Linked DNA regions of Homo sapiens: all the other regions are linked to region 6. Evidence: promoter capture Hi-C in 16 types of primary human blood cells and fetal thymus (Javierre and others, 2016). All regions are on one chromosome and are shown on one strand. The core of a region is centred on a gene start or on the middle of the fragment in contact, and the rest is flanking DNA. Distances in the headings are between cores, read along the strand shown.

Region 1 (3,746 bases), core at 1,216-3,715, 170 kb after region 6:
CATGATGGCCAGGCTGATATTGAACTCCTGACCTCAGTGATGCACCCACCTCAGCTGGCCTCCCAAAGTGCTGGGATTACAGGTGTGAGCCACCATGCCTGGCCTAATAGTTCTTGCTGTACTTAAAATACCAGGGGAGGGAGGCAGTCTGATGCCACCCTCTCCCTTTTTTTTTTTGTCAGGATGTACAATTTTCTATGATGCTTACCTGAAATTTGGAGAAGACTTTAAACAGGGGGAGATGCATTTGAGTTTTCCTCCTTTGGGACCCAGCTCTCTGGCCTTGAGCCCTTTTCTCTGGGACATATGAACCTGAATTTGGGGTCTGAGGCTTTTCGGACAGGAGAGAACAAAGTGGTGCTGGGAGACTGATGGGGGGGCAGGGAGGGGTGCTGGCAGGAGATAGGATGTAGGCAAGGATAGAAGGAGGGTAGAAGGGAGGGTGTTGCCTAGAACTCTAGAAAAAAGGGGGCAGTGTCTCCTGGAGGGAAAAAAGTAGTATTCTTAAAATGCCTCTCAGCACCCAGTGACCTGGTGGCCTCCAAGTGGTATCATCACCAGTGCTAATAAACATGTCTCTGCTCTAGGCAAGACAGGAGGTGAATAGGTGACGATTCAGATTTAGACCTGAAAACACAACAGGGGTTTATTTGTTTTAGAAGAGGATTACCCATATGACACTTTCAGCCAGCTGCCCTTAGAGACTTAAAATAAGATTGTATTTAAAAGAAAAATGGGTTTTGCATGCCTTTTGAGGCATTCAGTGGTTCTCATGTCTCCCCTTTGAGCAATGCCCTGTACATCCTGGATGGTCATTTTGGCAGGTAAGCTCCAGGGAAAAGGTAAAAGTGCTAGGGTGTCCACACTCCTGGCAAGAGCCCTAGAAAACAGGGTAAACAGTCCAAAGAGGGGGGTCTAGTCAGACTGGGCTCTGGTAGGGACTTGCAAAGCTAGGTGTGGCGCCTCCGCTTTGTAACCAAGAACCCCCAGTTCCTTGTAATCCCCCTCACAAGTTACTACAGGAAGTGAGGTAGGAAGGTTTTATGGGGACCCAGGCAGGCAGGAGGCATTCTGGGGAAGGTGGTGTTGGCTCAAATCCTGGGCCTCATGTCCCTTCTCTGGTTGTATCTTCCATGCTAGAAGAGCACCTCTTTCTGATGAGGAGTCAACGACAGGCGACTGCCAGCACTTTGGATCTCAGGAGTTTTGTGTCAGCAGCAGTTTTTCCAAGGTAAGAGGCTTTATGGAGCCACGTGCTGTCCACCAAAGGATGGAGCTGAGCTGCCTGGGAGGTGTGCCCAGCCTGCCATCCCAGGAAGTGGGCAGGAAGGGACAGGGTCTCTCCCAGGAGTTGGTATTGGTGGGACACAAATTGGCTGGCTGCCCTCTGCGTCTTCCGAGACCTGGTTGGTCGAGTTGCAGAGAAGACCAGCAGTTGCCTCTCGGGCCTCAGGACACTTGCACCATCTGCAGGGAGCTGGCTGAGATGTGCATGCTATCCTGTCGTTGCAGGTGGAGCTCACGGCAGTTGGAAGTGGCAGCAATGCCCGGGGGGCAGACCCAGATGGCAGTGCTACAGAAAAACTTGGGCACAAGTCAGAAGACAAGCCTGACGATCCCCAGCCAAAAATGGACTACGCTGGGAACGTGGCAGAGGCTGAGGGCCTCTTGGTGCCCCTGAGCAGCCCAGGAGACGGGCTCAAGCTTCCCGCATCTGACAGCGCCGAGGCCAGCAACAGCAGGGCCGACTGCTCCTGGACTCCACTCAACACCCAAATGAGCAAACAGGTTGACTGCTCACCCGCCGGAGTAAAGGCTTTGGACTCTCGGCAAGGTGTTGGAGAGAAGAATACTTTCATTTTGGCAACTCTGGGAACTGGAGTCCCTGTGGAGGGGACCCTGCCCCTGGTTACCACTAACTTCAGTCCTCTGCCAGCCCCTATCTGTCCCCCTGCTCCCGGTTCGGCCTCTGTGCCCCACTCTGTTCCAGATGCATTCCAGGTTCCCCTCTCCGTCCCTGCCCCAGTCCCCCATTCAGGGCTTGTTCCAGTCCAAGTTGCCACTTCGGTTCCAGCTCCTTCCCCTCCCTTAGCACCTGTCCCGGCTCTGGCTCCAGCGCCACCGTCAGTGCCCACGCTCATCTCTGACTCGAACCCCCTTTCTGTTTCGGCCTCAGTCTTGGTGCCTGTGCCAGCTTCTGCTCCCCCTTCAGGCCCGGTTCCCTTGTCGGCTCCAGCTCCTGCCCCGCTTTCAGTCCCAGTTTCAGCTCCTCCCTTGGCTCTCATCCAGGCTCCTGTGCCCCCTTCAGCTCCGACCTTGGTTCTCGCTCCCGTCCCCACTCCGGTTCTGGCTCCCATGCCAGCATCCACGCCTCCAGCGGCCCCTGCCCCTCCGTCTGTGCCCATGCCCACTCCAACCCCATCTTCCGGCCCACCTTCTACCCCCACCCTCATCCCCGCCTTTGCTCCTACACCGGTGCCTGCACCCACCCCAGCCCCCATCTTTACTCCAGCCCCTACACCCATGCCTGCTGCCACGCCAGCTGCCATTCCCACCTCTGCACCCATCCCGGCCTCCTTCAGTTTGAGTAGAGTGTGCTTTCCTGCAGCTCAGGCACCAGCTATGCAAAAAGTCCCCCTGTCCTTTCAGCCAGGGACAGTGCTGACCCCGAGCCAGCCGCTGGTATATATCCCGCCTCCAAGCTGTGGGCAGCCACTCAGTGTGGCCACACTGCCAACCACTCTAGGGGTTTCCTCCACTCTTACGCTCCCTGTCCTGCCGTCCTACCTGCAGGACAGGTGTCTCCCAGGCGTGCTAGCCTCCCCCGAGCTCCGTTCTTACCCGTATGCATTTTCTGTGGCCCGGCCTCTGACTTCGGATTCCAAGCTGGTATCTCTGGAGGTGAACAGGCTCCCCTGCACTTCCCCATCCGGTAGCACCACCACCCAGCCTGCACCCGATGGGGTCCCTGGGCCTTTGGCAGATACCTCCCTTGTTACTGCTTCTGCCAAGGTGCTTCCAACTCCACAGCCTCTGCTGCCAGCCCCCAGTGGGAGCTCAGCCCCACCGCACCCCGCCAAGATGCCCAGTGGCACCGAGCAGCAAACAGAAGGGACTTCCGTTACCTTCTCTCCTCTTAAGTCACCGCCACAGCTGGAACGAGAGATGGCCTCTCCACCTGAGTGCAGCGAGATGCCCCTTGATCTGTCCTCCAAGTCCAACCGCCAGAAGCTTCCATTGCCGAACCAGCGCAAGACACCCCCCATGCCTGTGTTGACCCCCGTGCACACCAGCAGCAAGGCCCTCCTCTCCACAGTCCTGTCTAGGTCTCAGCGCACAACCCAGGCTGCCGGTGGCAATGTCACCTCCTGCCTGGGCTCCACTTCCTCGCCCTTTGTCATCTTTCCCGAGATCGTGAGGAATGGGGACCCGAGCACCTGGGTGAAGAACTCAACTGCACTGATCAGCACCATTCCTGGCACCTACGTGGGAGTGGCCAACCCAGTGCCTGCATCCCTGCTGCTGAACAAAGACCCCAACCTGGGCCTCAACCGTGACCCCCGCCATCTCCCCAAGCAGGAGCCCATCTCCATCATTGATCAAGGAGAGCCTAAGGGCACTGGTGCCACGTGTGGCAAAAAGGGCAGCCAGGCTGGTGCTGAGGGACAGCCAAGCACAGTGAAACGATATACTCCAGCCCGCATTGCCCCTGGGCTGCCAGGGTGCCAAACCAAGGAACTCTCTTT
Region 2 (3,739 bases), core at 1,195-3,694, 200 kb before region 6:
TGGTGGGAACATGGGGTTCACTGAGGGAAGAGCTCCTTGGGACAGCTCGAGGGCCAGACAGCCTAGGACAGTCCTGTAAGGATGCAAATGGGGCCTGGCCTGGCCTTGGAGACCCAGATGCTGCCCTCTGCCCTCACAGACTTCACCCCTGGTGCCTCTGGGTGGCAACTTCTCTCCCTCTCTCAGTGAACATGCATACGGACTATAATATGCTACACAGCGTGGAGCAAATATGCATACCCATTCGGTGTTCACACAAGCACATGCATGGAGCCCACGTATGCCCATGACCTGTAGAGGCATCCTCTCAAGTCAGTGGGGCACACCCACAAAATTGTTCAGACTCAGAATCTTGGAGCAGAAGCAATTTTAGAGCTGCCCCCATTAAAAAAGTCGTCTTTGATGAACGCCAGTCAGCCACTCCTCTACACACACTTTGGCGTTTGCTCGTTCTCACACCTCCTGCAGAACAGGAAAGAGGAGATGACCTCGGGAACTTTCTTAAAATGGCCTGTGCCTAGACTTGACGCAAGCCTGAAGAAGTCCCTGCAGTTCCAGGACTCAGCCAGCAGGGGGCAGCCTCTCATGACACACTGGGTTTCCCCCAAAGAATAAGCAGGCTTGGAGAAGAAAGAGAGGCCGACTGCAAAGAAAGGGAAACATATAAGAAGTTTCCAGAGTGTCCGGCCATCAAGCTGACCCAGATGCATGTAGCCAGCCACTCCTGTGGGTGAGGAATTCTCAGCCCCTCATATTCAGCTGGTGAATTGATAGAGTCTGGGGCAAGTTATCAGAAGAGGATGTCTTAGTGACCATAGTACATCCTGCTTGCCCAGCCTAGAGCCACAGAGGGAATCAGCCAGCACACAGGAGTTCAGTGGAATCTCTCATTCTGCAAGTCACAGCCTCTCTCAGGGCCTGCTTCGTTGTCTGTGAAATGGGTTTAACAATAAATCACATCTGCTTCCTCCCACCTTGGTGCTTTGGACACAAGCCCTGTGCTCCCTCTGCTGAGACCTCCTTTCTCCAGCTTAACCCCTACTCACTCCTGAGGTGTCAGCTCCCACTTCACCTCCAGGAAGCTTTCTCTGACCCCAGATCGTGCACTCAGTGATAAACTTCCTAGAGGCCTGTTTTTCGCCTCCAGGGCCCTTGCCACAGTTCCTGGTTAGACATTCGGTTGTGATTTTTGAATAACATCTGTTTCCCTCTCCAGGTATTAAGGAATGTGGTACAAAGTAGGCCCTCAATAAACATTCAGCGAATGCTGAGAAATGAATTCCCATAGCTCTTTTACAGATCAAAAAGCACTTTCACATGCAAACAGGGTGGTCTTCATGGTACCCGCTGAGAACGATGGGGTTTTTTCCCCGTTACACACACAGCACTCTCTACTGTACCAAACATTTTAACTTCAGAAACTTCAGTCACTAGAAGCCCGAGAGGGAGCCAGGGATTCTTACTTCCATTTTAGAAAAGGTAAAGCTGAGGCCTAGAAAGGTGAAGTGACTGACCCAGGCTTGGAACTTGGAGGAGTCAGGATGTTTAAGTCTCCGCATCCCATGCTGGAAGGTATGATCATTACATTCCCTCATTATCACTGTCAGCATCGTCACCTCCATTGTGGCTATGGCCATGCCTAGTCTGGTGAGGAGGTGTACAGTTGGCGAGCACAAAGGCTTTTGAAGGTGGCGGGCAGAAGTCTGGGTTCCAATTCTGGCCTCACCTGCAGGTGACCATCGGGGCTAGGAGAGCATCCAGGGAGGATTCATGGGGGAGGGGAGCCTTGGCTGGCAGTTGGAGGACCCGGAGAATTGGAGGAAGGTGGAGAACCTGGGAAGGGAAGTCTGGGGAAACTAGAAGAGCACTGGAAATGGGTTTTGGGTGACTTAGGCTGAGGCTTTCCCTGCTTCTGCTTCCTAAAAGATGGGTATGAAGCTCCCTCCCTCGCAGGTCCTGCTGAGGCCGGTGCGCAGGCTCAGGGCCAGGAGAACATCCCTGGGGTTGCGGGGGAGTGGTACAGAGGGCGCTGTGGCTACAACAGCTAATGAGGGATGTCACACCCTCACCACACACCTTTCGCTGGTGCCTCCCAGAGGAAAGGTGAGGACCAAGTCTTTCTCCACTGTTCCTCCTCCACTGTCCCTTGCATGGTGTCCTGCACAGAGTAGGCGTTTTTTTTTTTTCTTTTGCTGTTGTTTGTTTTGCTTGTTTGTTTGAGATGGAGTCTTGCTCTGTCGTCCAGGCTGGAGTGTAGTGGTGCAACCTCCGCCTCCCAGGTTCAACGGATTCTCCCGCCTCAGCCTCCTGAGTAGCTGGGACTACAGGTGCCCACCACCACACGCAGCTAATTTTTGTATTTTGTAGAGACGGGTTTTTGCCATGTTGGCCAGGATAGTCTCGAACTCCTGACCTCAGATGATCCACCCACTTCGGCCTCCCAAACTGCTGGGATTACAGGCATGAGCCACCACGCCTGGCCAAGGGTAGGCATTTTTTAGCTGATTGTTTTGGGGTAGGGGTAGGCCAAAGAGCTCTTTATAGGCTTGGGTTCTAAAAGTTTGGGCATAGATTGAGAGAAGGGGAGCTCCTTTTGAAACTTACACAAGGCATGGGACCTAAAACTTGACAGGCAATTTGGGAGTGGGAATGGGGGTGGGGCAGGCTGTGGAGCTGAGCTAGAGGGTAGCCCAGAGTAGAGGGAAGGATGAAAGAGGATAATCAGATCAGAAGGTCTCTGCAGTGCTGGAGGTGGAAGGGGCTGTGTGGTGAGATTCCCTCCTCCATCCCCCTGCACTCCTCACTGGGACCTTTTTCCTCCCTGCTTTGTTTATCCTCTCTTATCTTTCCATATCCCTCACATCTGAGGAGTTGGGAATTTCCAAAGGAGAGAGGAACTCCAGGCTTCCAGAAAGCTCAGGAGCCTAGAGACATGGGGGATGAAACCCCCCATAACGTATGCCAAAGTCACCAGCCTCTATCCCTACACCTGCTGGGGAGGGAGCCAGAGATGTCTCTGCCTAGATGGAAAAAGAGGCACCCTCTTTCCAACAGGCCTCTCACAGCCCCCAAATCACAAGCAGTTCTGTTGCCCTGGGACTGAGGGTGCCAAAGCGAAGCCCCTCCCCTACAGACGAGAGGTGACTGCAGCCCTGGAGGGAATGCTTGGCATTTCAGCAGTGCCTTTGCCTTCCTTTAAAGCAATGCCACCTTGTTTCTCTCAGTTCGTTTGCACATACCACAGAAGATCTTTAGACTAATGGCTTACCTTCTCAGTGACTCAGTTTCCTCAGCTATAAAATGGGATTGTGATGGGGACTGACTAAGTCAGGACAGGTGAAGTTCCTCAAACAGTGCTTGGCACATGAGAAGCGCTCTACATGAGTTTGCTAGGACTATCTAGCTATGTTCCTTAAGCGTTCACTTATCCTTTCTGAGTCCCACTTTCTTCATTTGTAAAAATAACAGGGCTTAGGGTACTGAATGATCTCTCAGGCTCATGTCAGCTCTGCCCTTCTATGATTCTGTGTGTTTAAGGTAGGGAAAGCAGAGATTGTCATCCTATGAAAATAGATGAGGGAGAACCAGGACCCCTGATAGATGAACAGACCTGCCTGGAGTCACACAGCCAGTTACTGACCAAGCTGGGGTTAGGATCCAGAGCTCAGAACCCCAAGTTTCACACCACCAGGCTAGCTCTGCAGCAGTGTGCCAATTTTTTAACATTCAGGGAAGATCA
Region 3 (3,616 bases), core at 579-3,078, 220 kb before region 6:
AGCACCCCCACATACCTTTAACTACTCTATTATCTGATTTCTGTTCTTTGCTGGTGCTACTTCTTGCTGAAATGACTTCTCTGTGTGCTGCAAGTGACCATGACTTTTTTGTATACATCATAGCACATAGCATGGAGGTAGATGTTGGCTTTGCCTGTAGTAGAAGCTTCCTTAATTCTTTTTGGTTGAATCAAGGGTTGGGAGATGGGAAATAAAGCTATAGTCATTCTGGTTATATTTTTCTTAACTTTTACGATTTTGATCATGCGAGTGGATCTCTGAGTCATCAGGGCCCTCTATGCCCCTTGAGATCTAAATGACATTGCTTTGAGCCCCCTTCTACCCCTGTGCCATGAACAGTGCAAGTCAAGACCCCAGCCCAAGATATTTTTGAATTTCTAAGTGAGTTACTATTTGCAAGGCACTTAGAAGAGTATCTGGTACATAGTAAGCACTCTGCCAAGCATTAGGAATTAATATTGAAATCCTTGAATGAACAGTTGCCTTAGAGCTTAGTGTTTGGCCAGTGAAGCTCAGCAAGGCCCTCTGGGAAATGGGCAGCATTGTCTGGGCTGGGTCTGGTCAGAGGGGCATGGCTACTTTTTCTTGATCCAGGCCTGGGGTGAGTGTTGCTACTGCACCCCTTAAAGTGCTGTGAGACCCATTGTCCTCCAGTGCTTAAAGACTGAGCTTGAAGTCACCTTCCTTTTCCCACTCTAAGCCACCTTCCCTTAGAGTGGAAGAAGAGGGAAGAGTTATATCCTCATGGCCTTCTTACCACCCACGTTCTGCAGCTCTGAGCTTGGTCTCTGCTTTCACACTGTTGACCAAAGCACCAGACCTAGACCCTTTCTCAGTTCCCACCAAGAAAATGTGAGTAGTGGAATCTACTAAAGATCTTTGGTGGGATGAAATCCTGGGAGGTGGATGTGGTCACCTCACACAGTGGACAGCCTTCCCACACCTCTCTGGCTCCTCTGTCCCCTTTTCTCCCTGCTCCTCTCTTTCCCTCCAGGGTTTCCGAAGTTGCTCCAAATTCTTCCCCTGCCCCCTGAGGCCTTGGCACCTATAAAGGGTATTAAATCAGGGATGGGTATCACTTTCTACTCTTCAGAGCTTATCTAAGTATTTTTTACCAACATAGGTAGTCTTGCCCTGTGCATTCTGGTGCCAGCCCTTAAGCAATATATGAGCAAGGCCCTTCCTGTCTCTGGACCTTAGTTTCATGATCTGTAAAATGGACTGGAATCACTAGACCAGCCCTGTCCAATAGATAATAATGCAATATGTAATTTTAAATTTTCTAGTAGCCACATTGAAAAAAATAAACTGAAGAACTTAGTTATTTTTATCCTTTAGAGTAGCCACGGGGAAGCCACTGAGGAATTTTTAAACAGTGTTATTGAGATACAATTTACATATAATAAGGTGTTCATATCTAAAGTGTACAATTTGACACGTTTCGATATATGTAGACCTCCCTGAAACCATCACCACAATCAAGAGGGTGAACCACATGCAACATTCCCGGAAGATTCCTCGTGTCCCTTTGTAATTATGTATATTTAATAGTATATTTTTAATTTAATTTGGTATATCCAAAATATTATCATTTTAACATGTAATCAATATAAAATATTAGTGAGATCTTTTACATTCTTTTTTTTTTTTCATAGAAAGTCTTCAGATTCCATTGTGTGTTTTACCCTTGGAGAACATTCTGTTTTGTGGTAGCCACGTTTCAAGTGCTCCATAGCCACATGTGGCTCATGGTGACGGTTCTGGACAGCAAGGTCCATGTGATCTGTAAGCACCTTTCCCTCTCTCATGTTGAAGGCCTCCATGTGTCTATATTTCCTGACGTGTGTTCTTATCATTGATTACTACTGCTGTTGCTGCTGTGTGCACAGCCCAGGAGGTGGCCTTGCTGCCTGCCATCTGGTGGGGACCCATAGTCCCCACCACCCCACCTCGGCTGGGGCAATTGCAGGAAAACCACTTGTTGGAAACCCTCTTATACCATCGAATTCCAGAGTAGGCTCTGGATGGGGCCATCTCTGTTAACAACAGAGTTGAGGTAGATCAATTGTAAGGTGTGTTACTAATAAAAAGTATCAAAGTTTGCAAAGAAGTGACTTTGCATCATAAAAGAGGTTAGATTCAAGATTATTCTTATTACAAATAAGGGAGGCGTTATCCCTAGAATAAAGTCACTTTCCCTCTGACCCATATTCTTAAATGGGAGAACAAAGGGGGCAGAGGATGCTATTGCTTCTATGCTGGGAACCTTAGCCTGTCTTCCCTGTGCTAAAATCTTGAGCGACGTGAAGGTTCACTAAGGGAGTGGCCATGATTACTACAAATTTGGAGGACAGGTTATTATCACAACCTATGTCAATGGGAGCATGCTTAGAGGGCGCTGCACTGCAAAAAATATGGAGGAAACATGTAACAGGGGACTAAGGTGAGACAGATTCTCCAGACAGAGAGGCCTCAATTTGCCTGGGGCCTGGTGCTATTCGCTGAAGCACCTATAGAAGACTTGGAGGCTAAGCAATGCCCAGTTAGCCCGCCCTGGTGTGGGCCCAGTGAAACAGCAAGAGGGTAAGTACACCTTCCAGGCCCAGATGCCCTCAGGACCAGCCCTACTTTTGGCAAAGGAAGCATAAGCCTGGGTTCAGGCAGGGAAAGAGCTACAGACAGTTGTCTTTGGCTGGCACAGTAGTTCACATCTATAATCTCACCAATTTGGAAGGTTGAGTCAGGAAGATTACTTGAGACCAGGAGTTCAAGACCAGCCTGGGCAACATAGAAAGACCCCCATCTCTACAAAAAATAAATCAGCCGGGTGTGGTGACACCGGCCTGTAGTCCCAGCTACTCAGGAGGCTGAGGCAGGAGGATTGCTTGAACCAGGAGGTCGAGGCTGCAGTGAGCCATGATCGCACTACTGCATTCCATTCTGGGTGACAGAGAGAGACCCTGTCTGTAAAAACAAAAACAGAAAAAAAGACAATGGCCTTAATCTCCCCCTGCTTTCCCTAGGCCTAAAAGGTACCCTGCCTTTTAGGCAGGGTGAATCGGGTGGGGGCTGCCTGCCTTCCTCAGAGAGAGGGAAGGAAGCAAGGAGTAGGGGGTCTGACTGGGGCCCTACAGCTCCCAACCTCAAGACCTGCCTTTTGAGGCCATAGAGAAGCTGCAGCTTTGCTTTTGCAGCTGCAGCGGCAGTGAAGAAAGCAGGAGGGCATCCTGAGGCGGGAAATGCCTGTCAGTGTCATCCCCAGCTGCTTCCGGCTTCCTCCTTCAAGGATTCCAGGGGCTCCTCTGTAACCTTGCCAACCCCTCTCCCCTGCCCCAGGTTCTGGCAGGCAGCTGTGCGCCCCCCCTCAGGGCCCACGTCACAAGTCCTCAGAGGGGCTGTCAACTCCCCATTGTTCTCGGGGCTTCTGGGGCTTCTCCGGCATTCCTTTGGCTCATGAGGGGAAATGCCTGAAGCTTCGTCTTCACCTCTTCAGATGCTTGACCTAATAGTCACCCGGCCCTCCTGGCCCCTCAAGGGATGCTGTGGTGCGTGGGAGAATCTGGCTAGGCTAGCACTACAAGTACACTTACCTCAG
Region 4 (3,953 bases), core at 1,036-3,535, 210 kb after region 6:
CCCGCATTAGTCAATGTAAGCGTTTGGCCCGGGATCGGCCTCTCCAGCACCCCTCCCAGCTGTCCCCAGGCTGCCACCCAGTCGGGTGTGCTCAGCAAAGTCAGACTCCACTTTCTGTAATGTGAGCTCTGGCCCTGCAGAAACGATGGTGCTGCTGCTGGAGAAAAAACTTGTCTAATGCATTCCAGAGCCAAAGAGAAATGCCTTTTGGATTACCCGCAGTTTAGGCCTTTCTCCACGGCTCCCCCTCTGCTGGGGAAGATCTTGGAGAGCAAGGAGGCCAGGGAAGCAAGAGTAAGAACAGGAGAAGGGAAGGCAGCCAGGGTTGGCAGGGGCGGGAGTCGGAGGAAAGACTGGTCCCAGCAGATGGCAAATGCCAGGTCACAGGGGCGCAGGCTAAGTCCCCAAGAAGCCTGCTAAGAGTTTTAGGTTCTAGAATGCCCCTTTGCCTCCTGTTTGTGTTATTTTGGAAGAGGTGGTCACTGATTGCGTGCTCACCATTTAGCTGAAAGCCGGGCCAGGCATTGCAGGGGACAGGAGAAGACATTTGCCTCAGCTATACCCAAGGAGCCTGTGGTTTAGCAGGGGACGGGGGAGCCAGACTGGCAGTGAGTTATAATGGGAGACATTGATGGTCGTGCAGCCTTTGTGGGCTTTGCAGAGTGTTCTGGGTCGGTGCCCCCACCGCTTCCTCCAGCCTCCTTCAATAACTCCCATCCTTGCCTTTGCAGGCCCTGCAACTGGTTCCTCTTTTCCGATGTCTTGAAGAGGCTGAAGCTTTCCTCGAGGATCTTTCAGGCCCGGTTCCCGCACTTTGAAATCACCACCATGCCCAAGGCCGAGTTCTACAGGCAGGTGGCCTCCAGTCAGCTGCTGACCCCTGCCGAGAGGCCTGGAGGCTTGGACGACAGATCCCCCCCAGGCTCCTCTGAGACTGTGGAGCTGGTGCGGTACGAGCCAGACCTACTTCGGCTCCTAGGGTCCGAGGTGGAATTCCAGTCTTGCAACAGTTGACCGGGAAAACAGCCCCTCCTCTTCTTTCTCCTTCCGAGTTCGCCCTTCCCCCACCTCCTTGTCTTTCCCCGACCGAGCACCAGACTGCAGAATGAGGCAATAATACGGACCAACAAGAAGCCGCCTTATCAATGCCAGCATTAGCGACTGGACTGTTTTTGTTTTTTTGGTTACAATTAGTTCTCATCTCCCTGTCGTCGTCATTGTTATCGTGGTTGCTGATGGGGGTGGAAAGTTGAACTCCATGTCTGAGGACAAGAGGTCCCGGGGGTGGTGGGAGGTGGCGCCGGGGTCCCTTGGACTGGCCTCCTTGTTCATGACCAAGACCAAACCTGGGCCCTGGATGGCCTTGGCCTGTCCCGAGGAGAAATGAGAAAATCCCAGATCTCTGAGCGCCCCCCAACTCCATTCCCCTGTGTTCTTCTGTCTTCTGTAGTATTTATTTTATTAGTATTTAATTTGTATTGTTTCATTGGTTTCTGATAAGTCTGTATCACTGTGACGATTTGAGACAACTTGTTGTATTGAGGGACTTTCTGTACCTCCTTTTCTTTTTCTTTGTTGATGAGCTCTGACAAAGCTATTCCCTGGTGTTTTTTTCCCCCACTGGGGAGGGGGTGAGGTGGAATGGGGTGGGGGAACATGGACTTGTGACTAACGAAGCTGGTTGCTGCTGGCCCAGGGCTGGGGGCTTGGGGGTAAATCCTGAGGCTTTGGTGCTCCCCCACCCACCCATTCCCGCCCTTTGCAGCAGCCCCGCTATCTTGAGATTAGTGTTGACAGGGAGGGGAGGATTGTGAGGTGAGGGGTTAATAAGTTACTCTAATAAAGGAGCGTGGAGAAGGGATCTGAGGGGTGAGGGTGGCCCCCCTCCTCACGCCTTCTTCACTGCCCCCCTCAGAGTGCACAATACGAGTTTGTTCCTGCCTCCACTCTCCCACCCCGTTCTGGCCTCCCTGTCTCAAGATACTGAGCCTCTCACCTCCCAGCCCTCAGCCACCCCCATCCCTGCCCCTTCTGAGACTCACAGCACCCCTTTCCTTCCTCTCCTCCCACCTCCTCCCTCAGCCCCTCATTCTCCTTGGGAATCTGCAGAGGGCTCTGGGACTCACTGCCGGATGTGAAATCCAGGCGTCAGCTGTTTCCTAGGCAAGGGCAGGAAAGTGGTCTCCAGCCCTTGCTCCACTCATGCCTGGGGGCCTGGGGCTGAGTGGTATCCCTACCTGGCCTCCCCCTGGCCTCTGGGCCTCCAGCGCTGGGTTTGTCGAGTGAGAGAGAGAGAGGAGCTTGGGTTGCTTCCCTGTCCCCGCCCCCTCTGTGGCATTGTCCCTCCCACTCTTATTTTTCTACCAATTGCTATTTTTCCGAACAATCCTTGTAGAGTATGTACCATCCAAAGGCAGGAGGGCCTCGCCGTGGCCGGCTCTGGTTGGAGATGGTACAGTTTTATTGTACAGGTGCTAAAACAACAACAACAAAAAAGAAAATGGAAAAAAAAAAGATTAAAAAAAAAAGGAAAAAAAAAAAGCCAGTTTGAGGATGGGACAATCTGTTCTCTAGAGGCTCCTGAGCCATGCGGGAGCATTGGTGGTTATTTTCTTTGTATTGTGTTTGTTCTTTGTTCCTGGGGGGGAAGTTCTCGGCCCCCTTCTGTAGGACTGCTCCCCACCCCCACCATACTGCCCAGTTGGTTTTGAACAGTTGTTTTCCCTTTTTAAGAAAAAAAAATACATATATATATACATATATATATATAAAGTTGAGGGGTTTTGGACTTTAATTTGTTGGTTTTGTTGGGGTTCCTGGTATTGTGTAGTTTATTTCATGTTCTGTTTGCCTTTCCTTTTTTCGCATTTGGGTGTATATTCTGGCTGCCCTTTATGTTTCATTTTAAGCAACTGGCTGTGGAGTCAAAAACACTTGCATACTGAAAAACCTGTGTCAGGGCTTCTGTCTCCCGTCTCTCTTTTTCTCTCCCGTCTCTCTTTTTCTCTCCTCCCCTTTGGGACTTTTTGGTGGTTTCAGAAGGTGGGCATTGTGATTCAGTAAATGGGGAGCCCCCGCCATCCTGCTTTGCAGCTGTGGGTCCCAAGGGGTACGATGAATAAAGGCAAGGTGGAGTGGCTAGTGAACATTGGGTCACGATCTGGAAAGAAAAAGAAAGGGGCAAATCCTGGGGGCGGGGCCAGTGGGGGCAAATGGAGCATCTGGCTCCTGTTGCTTTGGTTTGGGGTTGAAGCAGGTGCCTGGGCAGTCCTTGTTTACATAGGAGTAGCAGGGTTGGAGGAAGTAGCCTTCTCTGTGGTGGCTGTGGGAATAAGCCTCCTTAAGGAAGTCCCCTGCTTGCCCTAGGCCACCCTGCCGAGGTGGCATCTGGCTGCATGGCCTCATCACTGCCCTCACTGTTGTGCCAGTGCTCCCCACCCACGGTGCAGGCCTTCCATGGTTCTGTTTTCCTGCCACCGAGCTACCATGAAGGCAAGATGCCCATCCTGGATTTTGCAGTTTTTCCTCCCACTTCTGAAAAACAGTGGTAGAAGCTATGATTCTTGTGATTGCTGGTTCCAGAATGCACCAGTGACTGAGAGGAAGAGGATGTTCGAGAGGCCTGGGATGAGGCCCTTTGAAGCTCTATTCTCTTAGGGCTTCTCACTGTGGCTTTCGAGTCTGGAGAGCCCTGTTAGAGAGTGTAGAGGCGAAGGGATCTGTGCGTCTGGCTGGCTGGAGTCCAGCCGTCCTCAGGAGTGAACTCTAAGCTGCTGTCTTTGCTCAAGCCTCAGAAGCTTGGCTCGACCCAGGTCCAAGCATCATCCTCTTTGAACCATAGCATTAATCTTCCTCATTGGCCGTCCTCTCCCCACTTTCTGATCCCAAGGCCCTATGCAATAGCCACCTTTGTCAGATTCCCAAACAAGCCCACAGTGGTTCTGAATTCAGGT
Region 5 (3,831 bases), core at 341-2,840, 180 kb before region 6:
CGTACTCTGTTTTTGCTGGCTTCTTTCACACAGAAAAATTATTTTGGGATTTATTCCTGCTGTTGTATGTATTAACAGTGTTTTGTGTATCAGCAGGTCATTACTTTTGAATGGCTGAGTGGTTTCCACCATATTTTGTTTATTCATTCATGTGTTGATGCACATGGATGGTTTTTTTTTTCTAGATGTTGGCTATTGCCAATAAAACTGCTATGAATATTCATATACAAGTCTCTGTATGGACAAAGACTTTCATTTCCCTTGGGAAAATACCTAGGAGTGGAATGCTAAGCCATATGGTAGATGTCTGTTTAACTTTTATAACACTACCAAACCATTTTTCAAAATGGTCATACCATTTAACATTCTCACCAGTAGTGTATGAGAATTCCAGTTCCTCCATATCCTCACCAACACTTGGTGTGGTCAGTCTTTTGTTTGTTTTCTTTATTGTGGTGAAAGGTATATATAACAAAATTTACCATTTAGACCTTTTTAAGAAGACTTCATTTACATATTTTTTAATTGTAGGTAATTACACATAACAAATTTTAACTGTTGTTAAGTTTATATTTTGTCAGCATTAAGTATATTCACATTGCTCTGCAACCATTACCACCATCCATCTCCACACCTTTTTCACCTTTCCAAACTGAAACACTGTACCCATTAAACATTAACTTTCCATTTGCGCCTTCCCCAGCCCCTGGCAACCACCATTCTACTTTCTGTCTCTATGACTGTAACTACTCTACTACCTCACATAATTGGAATAGTACTTCAGTCAGTCTTTTTAACTTTAGCCATTCGAATAGATCTGTAGTGGTATCTCACTGTGGTTTTAATTTTTATCTCCTTAATGGCTAATGAGGAAAGCATCTTTATATGTGTTTATTTGCCATCCAGATATCTTATTTGGTGAATTGTCTGTTCAAATATTTAGTCCATTTTTTATTGGTTGGTTTTCTTAGTATTGAATTATTTTAACAACTTTATTGAGATATAATTCACATACCATACAATTCACCAGTTTAAAGTGTACAATTCAATGGTTTTTAGTATAGTTACAGAGTTGTGCAACCATCACCATAATCTAATATTAGAACATTTTTATTATCCCAGAAGGAAACTCCATATCCATTACCAGTCACTTCCCATTCCCCTACCCTTCCATCCCCTGGCAACCAATAACCTTCTTTCTGTCCCTATAGATTTGCCTTTTCTGAACATTCGTATGAATGGAGTCATACAATGTTGGCCTTTTGTGTCTGGCTTCTTTCACTAGCATAATGCTTTCAAGGTTCATCCATGTTGTGGCATGTATGAGAAATTTATCCCCTTTTACTGCCAAATCATATCCAATTGTTTGGATATGCCACATTTTATCTATCCATTTATCAGTTGATGGATATTTGGGTTGTTTTTATTTTTGACTATTATGAATAATGCTCTATGAACATTTGTGTACATATTTTTGTGTGGATGTATGTCTTCAATTCTCTCAGGAATATACCTACAAATATGTACTTGGGCCATATGACAACTCCATGTTTAACCATTTGAAGAACTGCTAAACTGTTTTCCATAGCAACAGTACCACTTTCCATTCCCACCAGCAATGTATGAGGGTTCCAATTTCTCTATATCCTACCCAAACACTTATTTCTGTTTTTGTTTTTATTATAGCCATTCTAGTGTGTGTGAAGAGGTATTTCATTGTGGTTTTGATTTTCATTTCCCTTATGACTAATGATGTTTTATGTGCTTGTTGGTCTTTTGTGTATCTTTGGAGAAATGAGCCTTTGCCCACTTTTTGATTGGGTTGTCTTTTTATTGTTGAGTTGTAAGAGTTCATTACATGTTTTGGATACTAGGCTCTTATCAGATATATGATTTGTAATTTTTTCTCTTATTCCATGGGTTGTCTTTTTTCTTTTTCACTTTCTTAATAGTGTTCTTTGATGCACAAAAGTTCTTCATTTTGATGAAGTGAAATTTATCTGTATTTTCCTTGGTGCTTTTGGTGTTATATCTAAGAAACAACTAATCTAAGAGCACACAGATTTATACCTATGTTCTAAGACTTTTATAGTTTGACCTCACGTTTAGGTCTATGCTCTATTTTGAGTACATTTTTATGTGTGATGTAGGAAAGGAGATCAACTTCATTGTTTTGCATGTGGATATCCACTTGTCCCAGCACCATTTGTTGAAAAGACTATTCTTTCTCTCATTGAATTGTAAACAGTATTGTTTCTAAATTTCAGTTTCCAATTGTTTGTTGCTAGCATATAGAAATAAAGTTGACTTATATATATTAATTTTGTACCCAGAAACCTTGCTAATGTCATGTATTAGTTCTAGTAGATTTCTTGTAGATCCTTCTAGATTTTCTATATACATGATCATGTTATCTACAAATAAAGACAGTTTTACTGTTTTACTTCTTCCTTTTTTATCTAGATGCCTCTTATTTCATTTTCTTGCCTCATTGCACTGGCTAGAACTTCCAGTAAAATATCGAATAAGGGCAGACATTTTTTGTCTATCTCCTGATCTTAGGGGGAAAGAATTCAGTAGTCAACCGTTACATGTTAACTGTGGGTTTTTCATAATACACTTCCTCAAGTTGAGATTGTTTCCTTCTATTCCTAGTTTGTTGAGAGTTTTTCTTAAAAAGGATGTTGGATTTTGTCAAGTGCTTTTTCTGCATCTACTGAGATAATCCTATGGTTTTTTTCTCTCCTTTTGTTTATTAATGTGGCAAATTACATTGCTTGATTTTCAAATGTTAAGCCGACTTTGCCTTGCTGGGATAAACCCCACTTGATCGTGGGTGTATCCTCCTATTTCTATATTGTTAGATTTGATTTGCTACAATTTTAGCATAGATGTTTATAAGGGATACTGCTCTGTAGTTTTCTCATAACATCTTTTTCCTTTTTTATTATCAGGGTAATGCTAGTAATAAACATAGCTAAAATGAAAAGGGAAATATTTCTTCCTTTTCAATTTTCTGGAACAGTTTGTATAAAATTGGTATTATTTCTGCTTAAAATATTTTGTAGAATTTACCAATAAAGTCATCTGACCCTGAAGTTATATTTGTAGAAAGGTTTTTAGCCACAAAGTCATTTTTTAAATAGAAGGCTATTCATAGTGCCTGTTCTTCCTGAGTGAGTTTAGGTGTTTTGTGTCTTTCAAAAAATTTTCCATTTCATCTAAGTTGTCAAATTTACTGGCAAAAAGTTGTTCATAATATTCCCTTAGTATTCTTTTAATATTTGGAGAATCTGTAGTTATGTCACCCCTGTCATTCTTCAAACTGGTAATTTGTGTCTTCTTTCTTCTTTTCCTGATTAGCCTGGCTAAAAATATATCAATTTTATTGATTATCTCTAAGAACTTCAGATGTTCTCTAAGAACTTTCAACTCTAAGCTTTTGGCTTAATTCGTTTTCTCTATTGTTTGTTTCTTTTCTATTTCTTTAATTTCTGCTTTGATTTTTATTATTTTCTTTCTTCTACTTTGGGTTTAATTTCTTTATCTCTTTCTAGTTTCTTTTTTTTATTATTATACTTTAAGTTCTAGGGTACATGTGTACACAACGTGCAGATTTGTTACATATGTATACATGTGCCATGTTGGTGTGCTGCACCCATTAACTCGTCATTTACATTAGGTAATCTCCTAATGCTATCCCTCCCCCCTCCCCCAACTCCACGACAGGCCCCAGTGTGTGATGTTCCCCACCCTGTGTCCAAGTGTTCTCATTGGTCAATTCCCACCTATGAGTGAGAACATGTGGTGTTTGGTTTTCCGTCCTTGCGA
Region 6 (3,959 bases), core at 297-2,796:
ACCTTGGAACTAGAGAGGATTTTATAGGTGATCGTGCCAATTATTAATACTTTGTTTTGTAAATGAGTAAACTGAGGACCAGAGAGAGGAAATAACTTATCCAGGACCACACAGCAGCAATGCTGATACTGCTAACTTCCAGTCAAGGGCATGTTCCACTATGCCACAGTGTTCTTTCAACATCATTAAAAGGACTCTAAAAATAATAGTAGAGTTTCTGTCCTTATAAAACCTCCCTCCCTTCCTCCACTTCACCTTCTTTCTTCAATTAGCCACTCGAATATGAATCACAGCAGGGAACAAGTCACCCTCTGGCAGGGCCAGGAGGTTCTGGACGCTCTGTGCACATACGTGCATTGTATTTACACAAAACAGATTTCCCCTCATCAAACCCTCTGCAACTTCCTGAGTCCGGGAAATGAAACAATCTGGCTGGTCTAGCCTAACATTTGTGAGAATCTTAATGAAACCACATCAGAGACCTGTAGGTGAAAGGCTGACTTAAGCAGGAGAGATTCTGGAATGGTTGGTGACTGCTGATGGCTGGTTGGGGGGTGGGGAATGGCAGCAGCTAAGAAAAGTCACAAGGGCGCTTTCTGGGACATGTCCTAAGTACCATCTCTACTCAGCATCCTGAATTCCCAGGCCCAGAGTTTCTCAGCCTCTGCTACCCTTCTCCTCCGCTCAGGTGTGGTGTTGTGGCCTCTATTTACCGACACCACATGCCCCACGCTGGCAGGACTGAGGCGGAAGCCTGCAGCCCGACGGACGGAGGGAGAAACAGCCAACTCGCGGGCTGGAGAGGGCAAAGGTCCAAAAACAGCCTAGGAGCGGAGCAGGGAAACGAGAAGGTAGAAGGTTCGGGGAAGGGGAGGGGGGCCCAGAGGTGCAGAGAACCCGTCCTTTGTGTAAAACTAACCTGGAAGACAATCTCCTCCCGATAAACCGGCCCAGCGGGAGAAGGGAGACCAGGAAGGGGGAGCCGGCCTGGAAGAACAAAGATCAAAATCCGTCGGGAAGCAGCGACCGGCTCCCCAGCGGGGGGCCGGAGGCCGGAGGCCGGAGTCCGGGGCCGAGCCGCGGGCGCGGCCTCTCGAGGCCCGCCCTGACTCCGCCACGCCGCGGACCACCGCCCCAGGCAGGTTGGGACGCGCGCCACATCCACACGCACACGCAGCCACACGCTCGTACACACTCACACACGCCCCGCCACGTGTAGTCACCCCGGGCCAGGGGCTCGGCGGCTGCCGAGTTGAGAAGGGCGGTGCCGACGTCCCCGCCTCCAGGCGCCGCGGAAGGGGAGGCAGCCCACCCTGCAGCCGAGCCCAGGAGACCCCCGCCCCCACCCCTCGTTACCTGAACCACGGAGACCCAACTCGGCCGGCAGCTGACGGCAGGAAACGGACCGTCCCAGGGAATCACGTCGGCAGCCAAAGGTGGCAGCGACTTGTCCTCCCCGGGCCGGGAGGCTGTCTCCTCCTGACAAGGGGCCCCAGTGGTCGGGGCCCTAAACCAGCTGTGGCAACCGCCCACCACTGGCCAAATGGAACGCTCCTCACGTCACCAGGTCGCTCCAGTAGTTGCTCGCCCTCTATTGGCCGATCGGCCTCGGCGCCTCCGCCCCGGCCGCCCCTATCCCGAACTGCCATTGGTTTTGCCTAACGCCACTCGACGATGCCTCCGCCCACTCCTCCACCCATCTCCCTGCTGCATGCCCACCTGCCAAGCCACTGCCAGCCTCTCTTTGGGGTCTGAGCGCCAGTATGTGAAGTGTTGCCTTCTATTAATATAGTTACGCAGAGACGGAGGTTAAGGGTAGTGCCGATGGGACAGCAAAGGGTGGAACCAGCCTACACACACGCGCGCGCGCGCGCACACACACACACGCGCGCGCACACACACACACAGTGAGATGCTGAAGCAACACTAGCTCACAGATCCGGGTGCTCACCCCAAACTAGGTCTGCCATGGGCCTCTCCAGCCCTGCTTGCATTTTAAAATCAACCGCAACTTGAGATTTTACTCTTTATCGGCATAAAAACAAGTCATCTGCCTCCCAAGTCTCATTCAGTAGCCAGGGACCCCATATCTGTCCCAGTCACCCTAGCCTGCATCTCTAAGTCTTTCAAATCAAAACACACAAACAAGCATAAAAAGCATGTTGTAAAGGATAAATGTCCCCAAGAACGTATTATCATTTTGCAGCACCTAAAACAACTAATTGACATTAATGGAGTTAAAGAAACTCCACTGAGGACATAAATTCTTCCAGGTAGGTAATGAAGTAAAGATTGCCAAAAAGGTTGTAAATTTTTATTCGGTTTGGAAAGCTTATGATGATTAAGGGGAGAATCCAAGGCAGAATTCCCACCCACCAACCAGATTGATTTTTTCCTTCTGCCACCCAGCTCTGCATTACTGCCACCATGAGCCACTGCTACTGATCCGAGTGAGTTGCATGCATTAAAAGTTTGAGATTGGGCTGGGCGCGGTGGCTCACGCCTGTAATCCCAGCACTTTGGGAGGCCGAGGCAGGTGGATCACCTGAGGTCAGGAGTTCAAGACCAGCCTGGCCAACATGGCAAAACCCGTCTCTACTAGAAAGACAAAAGTTAGCGGGGAGCGGTGGGACTCGCCTGTAGTCCCAGCTACCAGGGAGGCTGAGGCAGGAGGATCACTTGAACCCAGGAGGTGAAGGTTGCAGTGAGCCAAGATCATGCCACTGCACTCCAGCCTGGGCGACAGAGAGAGACCCTGTCTTAAAAAAAAAAAAAAAAAAGTTTGAGATTGAAGGGGGGAAACAATTGAGAACCACAGTATTATACTATAGGGTGACTTTAAAAGACACTAGGTCTGTTTTCACCAGTATGGCTCCTGCCTTCCAAATATAAGAGGAAATATGAGAAAAGGTTGAAGGTGGCATCTCCTTTCCAAGTGTAAGAGGAGATAAGAGAAAAGGTTGAAGATTGGAGGAGAATGCCTACATTACCAGCCTAGGTTTTCCTAAGCGTGATAAAAATTTCAAAGTTTTAGAGATTTGGTATTTGGAATTAGTACAGAAGAGACTGCCAAAGCTCTTCCTAAGGCAGTTGTATGTTAGTTGAAGGACCACATACATGGTCAAGAACTATTTTTCCTTTACAGTATATGTGTCCCACACAATATGAAACAAAAAGCTACATAATAATTACATTTGACACTTTCATGGCACCCTTCAAAATTCTTAAAGGATTTAAAAAACACTAGGTAATTCTGAGATGTGTTGTAATTAACTTGCAAAGGAAGGTTTGTCTTTATAAAGCTTCCATTGTTCCTTAGCACTCATGCTGATTATGATCAACAGTTTATTCCTCATGAAGTGTACGATCAGTATCATTGCCTCCAATTCTCCCGCTTTGAATTCTGGAGGGTGCTGGTATTGCACACACTTGGTATGGGAGGGAGAAGAACTTCCCTAAACCTCATCAGCCCTGTGGATTTCCAAGCCTATGTATATCAGATGCCCTTAGGAATAGTATGGTCACCCCAGCTGCCATCCTTCTGACTATGGAGCAGTGAAAAATAAGCCTCTGTAGCACTCAAACATATTTTGTCCATAGCTCAGGTGCAGGTGAAGCCTGAGGAGTCCTGGAATCGATGTGTCATGGTGACACATTCCTGAGCTCTGTCCCTCCCTGCTCTGGGTCACATTCCCTCTCGGACTAAGTGGCTATGTGAGTCAGGCTTGTTTTATTACAATCTGTTATTATTTATTCTCAACACTCAAAGAAAAATAAGGAAAATTTATGTGGACAAACATCCCATAGTACTTCCTCCTATGTAGTTACATCATTTTATATAATCCTTAAAGTCTTAATACACACACACAACTAAATTGTGACTATAAACTGAGACTGTTTTTTCCTATTCTTTTCTCTTCTCTTTTCAACAGACTTCCCACTTTTTACATCCAAGTCAG
Region 7 (3,870 bases), core at 421-2,920, 190 kb after region 6:
CCCTACTCACTGTAGGAGGAAGGTGCATAAGAGCATGAAGATCAGGGGATCACTGGGGCCATCTTAGAGGCTGACTCCCACAGTCTGCCCTCTGGCCTCCCCCAGTGATTCCTGTCCCTCCCACATGCAAAGTATGCCACCTCTCCCAGTGCCCCCCAAAGCTTCATCCAATTATAGCATCACCTCCAGGTCGAGAATCTCTTCTATTTATTTATTTATTTATTTATTTATTTATTTATTTATTTATTTGTAATGGAGTTTCACTCTTGTTGCCCAAGCTGGAGTGCAGTGGCTCTATCTGGGCTCACTGCAACCTCTGCCTCCCAGGTTCAAGTAATTCTCCTGCCTCAGCCTTTCGAATAGCTGGGATTACAGGTACCTGGCACCACTCCCGGCTAATTTTTTGTACTTTTAGTAGAGATGGGGTTTCACCATATTGGCCAGGCTAATCTCGAACTCCTGACATCTGGTGATCCACCCGCTTCAGCCTTCCAAAGTGCTGGGATTACAGGTGTGAGCCACCATGCCCGGCAATTTTTTTTCTTTTCTTCTCTCTTTTTTTTTTTTTTTGTAACAGAGTCTCACTCCATCACCCAGGCTGGAGCGCAGTGCCGCAATCTTGGCATACTGCAACCTCCCCCTCCCGGGCTCAAGTGATTCTCATGCCTCAGCCTCCTGAGTAGCTGGAACTATAGGCGTGTACCACCACGCCCAGCTGATTTTTTGTATTTTTAGTAGAGGCTGGGTTTCACTGTGTTGGCCAGGCTGGTCTTGAACTCCTGTCCTCAACTGATCTGCCTGCCTTAGCCTCCCAAACTGCTGGGATTATAGGCGTGAGCCACCGCTCCCGGCCTCTCCTAGTGTTTTGTGAGCACCTACCCTGCTCACAGTTCTGGAGCCTTTGTAGTTCATTATCTCAAAGACCCTGCAAGGAAGAAAGTGGGGCTCAGAGAGGGAGGGCCTTGCCCCAGGTCTTCTAGCTAGGGGATGGCAGAGGCAAGGTTCAAGCCCAGGTCTGCCTTAGATCTTTCTACCACCCCAGGGGAGTCTGAGTATGATATGGGGACACAGTGTGATGGAAGATGGGAACATTCTGTGAGGACTGGATGTGGAAGGAAGGTTTTTGCTACAAGTGTGAAGCTTTAGCAGCTGTGACTAGTCAAAGATAGCCGGCCGGGCATGGTGGCTCATGCCTGTAATCCCAGCACTTTGGGAGGCCGAGGCAGGCGGATCACTTGAGATCAGGAGTTCGAGACCAGACTGGCCAATGTGGCGAAACCCCTCTCTACTAAAAATGCAAAAATTAGCTGGGCATGGTGGCGCATACCTGTAATCCCAGCTACTCAGGAGGCTGAGGGAGGAGAATCCCTTGAACCTGGGAGGCAGAGGTTGCAGTGAGCAGAGATCACACCACTGCACTCCAGCCTCAGTGACAAAGTGAGACTCGGTCTCAAAAAAAGAAAAAAAAAAGATAGCTGTCTCATTTCTCTTTACTCTCAGAGTTTGCTTCTGCCTATTTACAGATAGGACTTATAAAAACCTCAATAAATGGTGATTGAGGCAGGTAAAGAAGGCATGCAGAGTCTTGAGAGAAGCTAGGATATCCCCTCAATCTCTGATTTACAATCCCTGTGGCATTCCTTGGTTTATGGGGTTGAGCATTTGAACCTCTTCATATCTCCCCACCGGCTACAAACTCATGGGAACCTGTGTTGATCCTGGAGAGACTTCACATGGTTAGCGCCTGGCCCAGCGTCTGGCCTCAAACCTGACAGTAGTCTCGGCCATTTAGGGTAGTGTAAGCAAAGTACAGCATGGACACAGATAAGGTGAGATGGCCTTGGCCACTGAGGGCAGTGATGACCCTGGTGGATGGATAAGCTGCCTGGCCTGACCTGACCTAGGACTGCATCTCTGCTTTCCAGGGCAAAGGTCGTTGGAGCCAGCAGAAGACACGATCTCCCAAATCTCCCACCCCAGTGAAACCCACAGAACCATGTACACCCTCTAAGTCCCGAAGTGCCAGCTCAGAGGAGGCCTCAGAGTCACCTACAGCCCGGCAGATCCCCCCAGAGGCACGTCGGCTCATAGTGAACAAAAATGCTGGTGAGACCCTCCTGCAGAGGGCGGCGCGTCTTGGCTATAAGGTAAGGGAGTTTTCGACTGACCACAGGGCGCCGTTGGTCTGAGCATCTATGAAGAAGCTTTTCTCCATGGGCTCTTCTGGTGCTTGAACCCAGGCTGGCCTCCCTCTACACCCCAGATTGCCCTGGGGCTGCCTTGCCCCTCATCACTTGGATGTCAGCGTGTGAGAATGCAAACTTGCTTGAATGTCAATTTGGGATGAATGCAATTGAAATGGTATCATGCAGTATATTCCTAGACCAGGAACGCAATTTTTGGATATCCACGTTGTCTTAAATTTCTCTGTATGGTGGTTTCCCAACTCAGAAAGGAACAAGGGGTGATTTATTGCTCACTCTTCATCTCCTCCTCCAGCTTCCCCTCATTTTCGCCTCTCGCAGAGGGGCCAGGATCATGTTTGAGGGGCGAGGCTGAGCTAACCCCACCTTATACTACTACCCTATAGATTAGAAAGAAGGCAAGAAAGGAAGCTGGCATTTATTGAGCACTTCTTTTGTCATGTGAAGAGCCTGATTACTTTGTATCATTTAATCTCACAGTAAGCCGATGGAGTAGATTTATTATCCCCATTTTATAGGTGAGAAAATCGAGGCTTTGCAGTGTTACTGATATGTCTAAGATCACTCAACTACTACGCATATGAGTCTGAATTCAAACCAAGGTCTTTTGATTCCCAAGTGCCAGGGTAGGTGGAAGACTGACTCATTCACCATAATTCAGTTACACCTTGGACGTTTCCATTGTTCCCCACTTTTTATTGAGTGTGTATCTTTGCCTACCATATGGATTATTTCCTCAGGGTATGCTCCTAGCAGTGGAGTTGCTGGGTTAGTTACAGAGTGTGCCTTTGGTTTTAAGGCTTTCCATCCCTATACCTGAGTTGTTTCACACCAGCCACACTCCCAGCCAGACTGGTCAGCTCTGGGGAGCTGACGTGACAGTGTCTCACTGGCAAGCAGCCCATCTTTCATGAGCACCTAGTGTGCGTGCCTGGATAGCTGCCGAGGGAGACCTAAAACAAAAATCAAGACCAATCCCTGCCGTCAAGGTTAATTTAATTGTCTTGTACCCTGGGCAAAACCAGCCAACAGGAAACCATTGGAGGGGCCAATGGGACAGGGCTGGAGCACTAAGGCAGCCTGTCAGGGAGGGTGGAAGGAGCCCTTTTGGGCCTGGGGGAAGAGGCAGACATCTGCACTGGTGAGGAGGGTGGGAAGCCTCGGGCTTTCTCCCGGGTAAAGGAGCTTGACAGTTTCTATATACAGCCAGCAGCACCCCTGACACAGGCTGCACACACAGCCGCTCTAGCCAGCTAGCCTGTGAGCTGTCAGACAGAAAGGTGGAGTGGCCCATCTCCCCAGTGCCCCAGAGAGGACTGGCAATGGTGCAGCTATGGGATCCATTGTTTGGAAAGCCAGGCAGCCATTAATGCTGCCAGCCTCTCCCCTCCTCACCTCATTCACCCAGCTTCAGCCCATGCTAGCTAGGGTGCTTCAAGTCCCTGGTGTCCCACCTGTAGTCCTAGCATCATCTCAATCCAAGGAAGGCAGTCATTAAAGTGTGGATGAATGGCAGTATTGGATTATCCTTTTTTTTTTTTTTTGGAGATGGAGTCTTGCTCTGTCACCTAGGCTGGAGTGCAACGGTGCAATCTCGGCTCACTGCAGCCTCCACCTCCTGGGTTCAAGGGATTCTCCTGCCTCAGCCTCCTGAGTGGCTGGGATT

What was found. The method cuts DNA at HindIII sites, captures the fragments that hold promoters and counts their contacts. A CHiCAGO score of 5 or more calls a contact.
Region 1: a contact is called between a fragment that was not itself captured here and the fragment with the promoter of ZDHHC9 in region 6, in 2 of 17 cell types (non-activated CD4 T cells and activated CD4 T cells). The highest score is 7.8, in non-activated CD4 T cells.
Region 2: a fragment that was not itself captured here is called in contact with the fragment with the promoter of ZDHHC9 in region 6 in 16 of 17 cell types (activated CD4 T cells, total B cells, non-activated CD4 T cells and 13 more); the score reaches 36.7 in activated CD4 T cells.
Region 3: a fragment that was not itself captured here is called in contact with the fragment with the promoter of ZDHHC9 in region 6 in 16 of 17 cell types (neutrophils, activated CD4 T cells, non-activated CD4 T cells and 13 more); the score reaches 27.2 in neutrophils.
Region 4: a contact is called between a fragment that was not itself captured here and the fragment with the promoter of ZDHHC9 in region 6, in 13 of 17 cell types (M0 macrophages, activated CD4 T cells, neutrophils and 10 more). The highest score is 15.8, in M0 macrophages.
Region 5: a fragment that was not itself captured here is called in contact with the fragment with the promoter of ZDHHC9 in region 6 in 11 of 17 cell types (non-activated CD4 T cells, activated CD4 T cells, total B cells and 8 more); the score reaches 20.9 in non-activated CD4 T cells.
Region 7: a fragment that was not itself captured here is called in contact with the fragment with the promoter of ZDHHC9 in region 6 in 7 of 17 cell types (activated CD4 T cells, total B cells, naive B cells and 4 more); the score reaches 8.6 in activated CD4 T cells.

What each region holds. Positions count from the first base shown.
Region 1 is chrX:130,011,438-130,015,183 of GRCh38, forward strand. It overlaps BCORL1 (BCL6 corepressor like 1), which reads left to right. Exons shown (of 14, transcript NM_001379451.1): 3 at 1,141-1,231; 4 at 1,513-3,746. Among named protein-coding and RNA genes, the nearest start is that of BCORL1, 31 kb to the left of the region's middle. The HindIII fragment of the contact is 1,527 bases long and covers 1,703-3,229 here.
Region 2 is chrX:129,637,122-129,640,860 of GRCh38, forward strand. No RefSeq gene overlaps it. Among named protein-coding and RNA genes, the nearest start is that of APLN, 16 kb to the right of the region's middle. RefSeq lists a silencer at 481-650. The HindIII fragment of the contact is 2,728 bases long and covers 1,081-3,739 here.
Region 3 is chrX:129,619,631-129,623,246 of GRCh38, forward strand. No RefSeq gene overlaps it. Among named protein-coding and RNA genes, the nearest start is that of APLN, 34 kb to the right of the region's middle. The HindIII fragment of the contact is 3,328 bases long and covers 165-3,492 here.
Region 4 is chrX:130,055,123-130,059,075 of GRCh38, forward strand. It overlaps BCORL1 (BCL6 corepressor like 1), which reads left to right. Exons shown (of 14, transcript NM_001379451.1): 14 at 732-2,949. The coding sequence ends at 1,014. Among named protein-coding and RNA genes, the nearest start is that of ELF4, 53 kb to the right of the region's middle. The HindIII fragment of the contact is 3,020 bases long and covers 776-3,795 here.
Region 5 is chrX:129,667,194-129,671,024 of GRCh38, forward strand. No RefSeq gene overlaps it. Among named protein-coding and RNA genes, the nearest start is that of APLN, 14 kb to the left of the region's middle. The HindIII fragment of the contact is 3,694 bases long and covers 1-3,437 here.
Region 6 is chrX:129,842,340-129,846,298 of GRCh38, forward strand. It overlaps ZDHHC9 (zDHHC palmitoyltransferase 9), which reads right to left and starts at 1,547. Exons shown (of 11, transcript NM_016032.4): 1 at 1,357-1,547; 2 at 920-987. The HindIII fragment of the contact is 4,624 bases long and covers 1-2,329 here.
Region 7 is chrX:130,032,530-130,036,399 of GRCh38, forward strand. BCORL1 (BCL6 corepressor like 1) reads left to right here. Exons shown (of 14, transcript NM_001379451.1): 9 at 1,926-2,147. Among named protein-coding and RNA genes, the nearest start is that of BCORL1, 52 kb to the left of the region's middle. The HindIII fragment of the contact is 1,064 bases long and covers 1,139-2,202 here.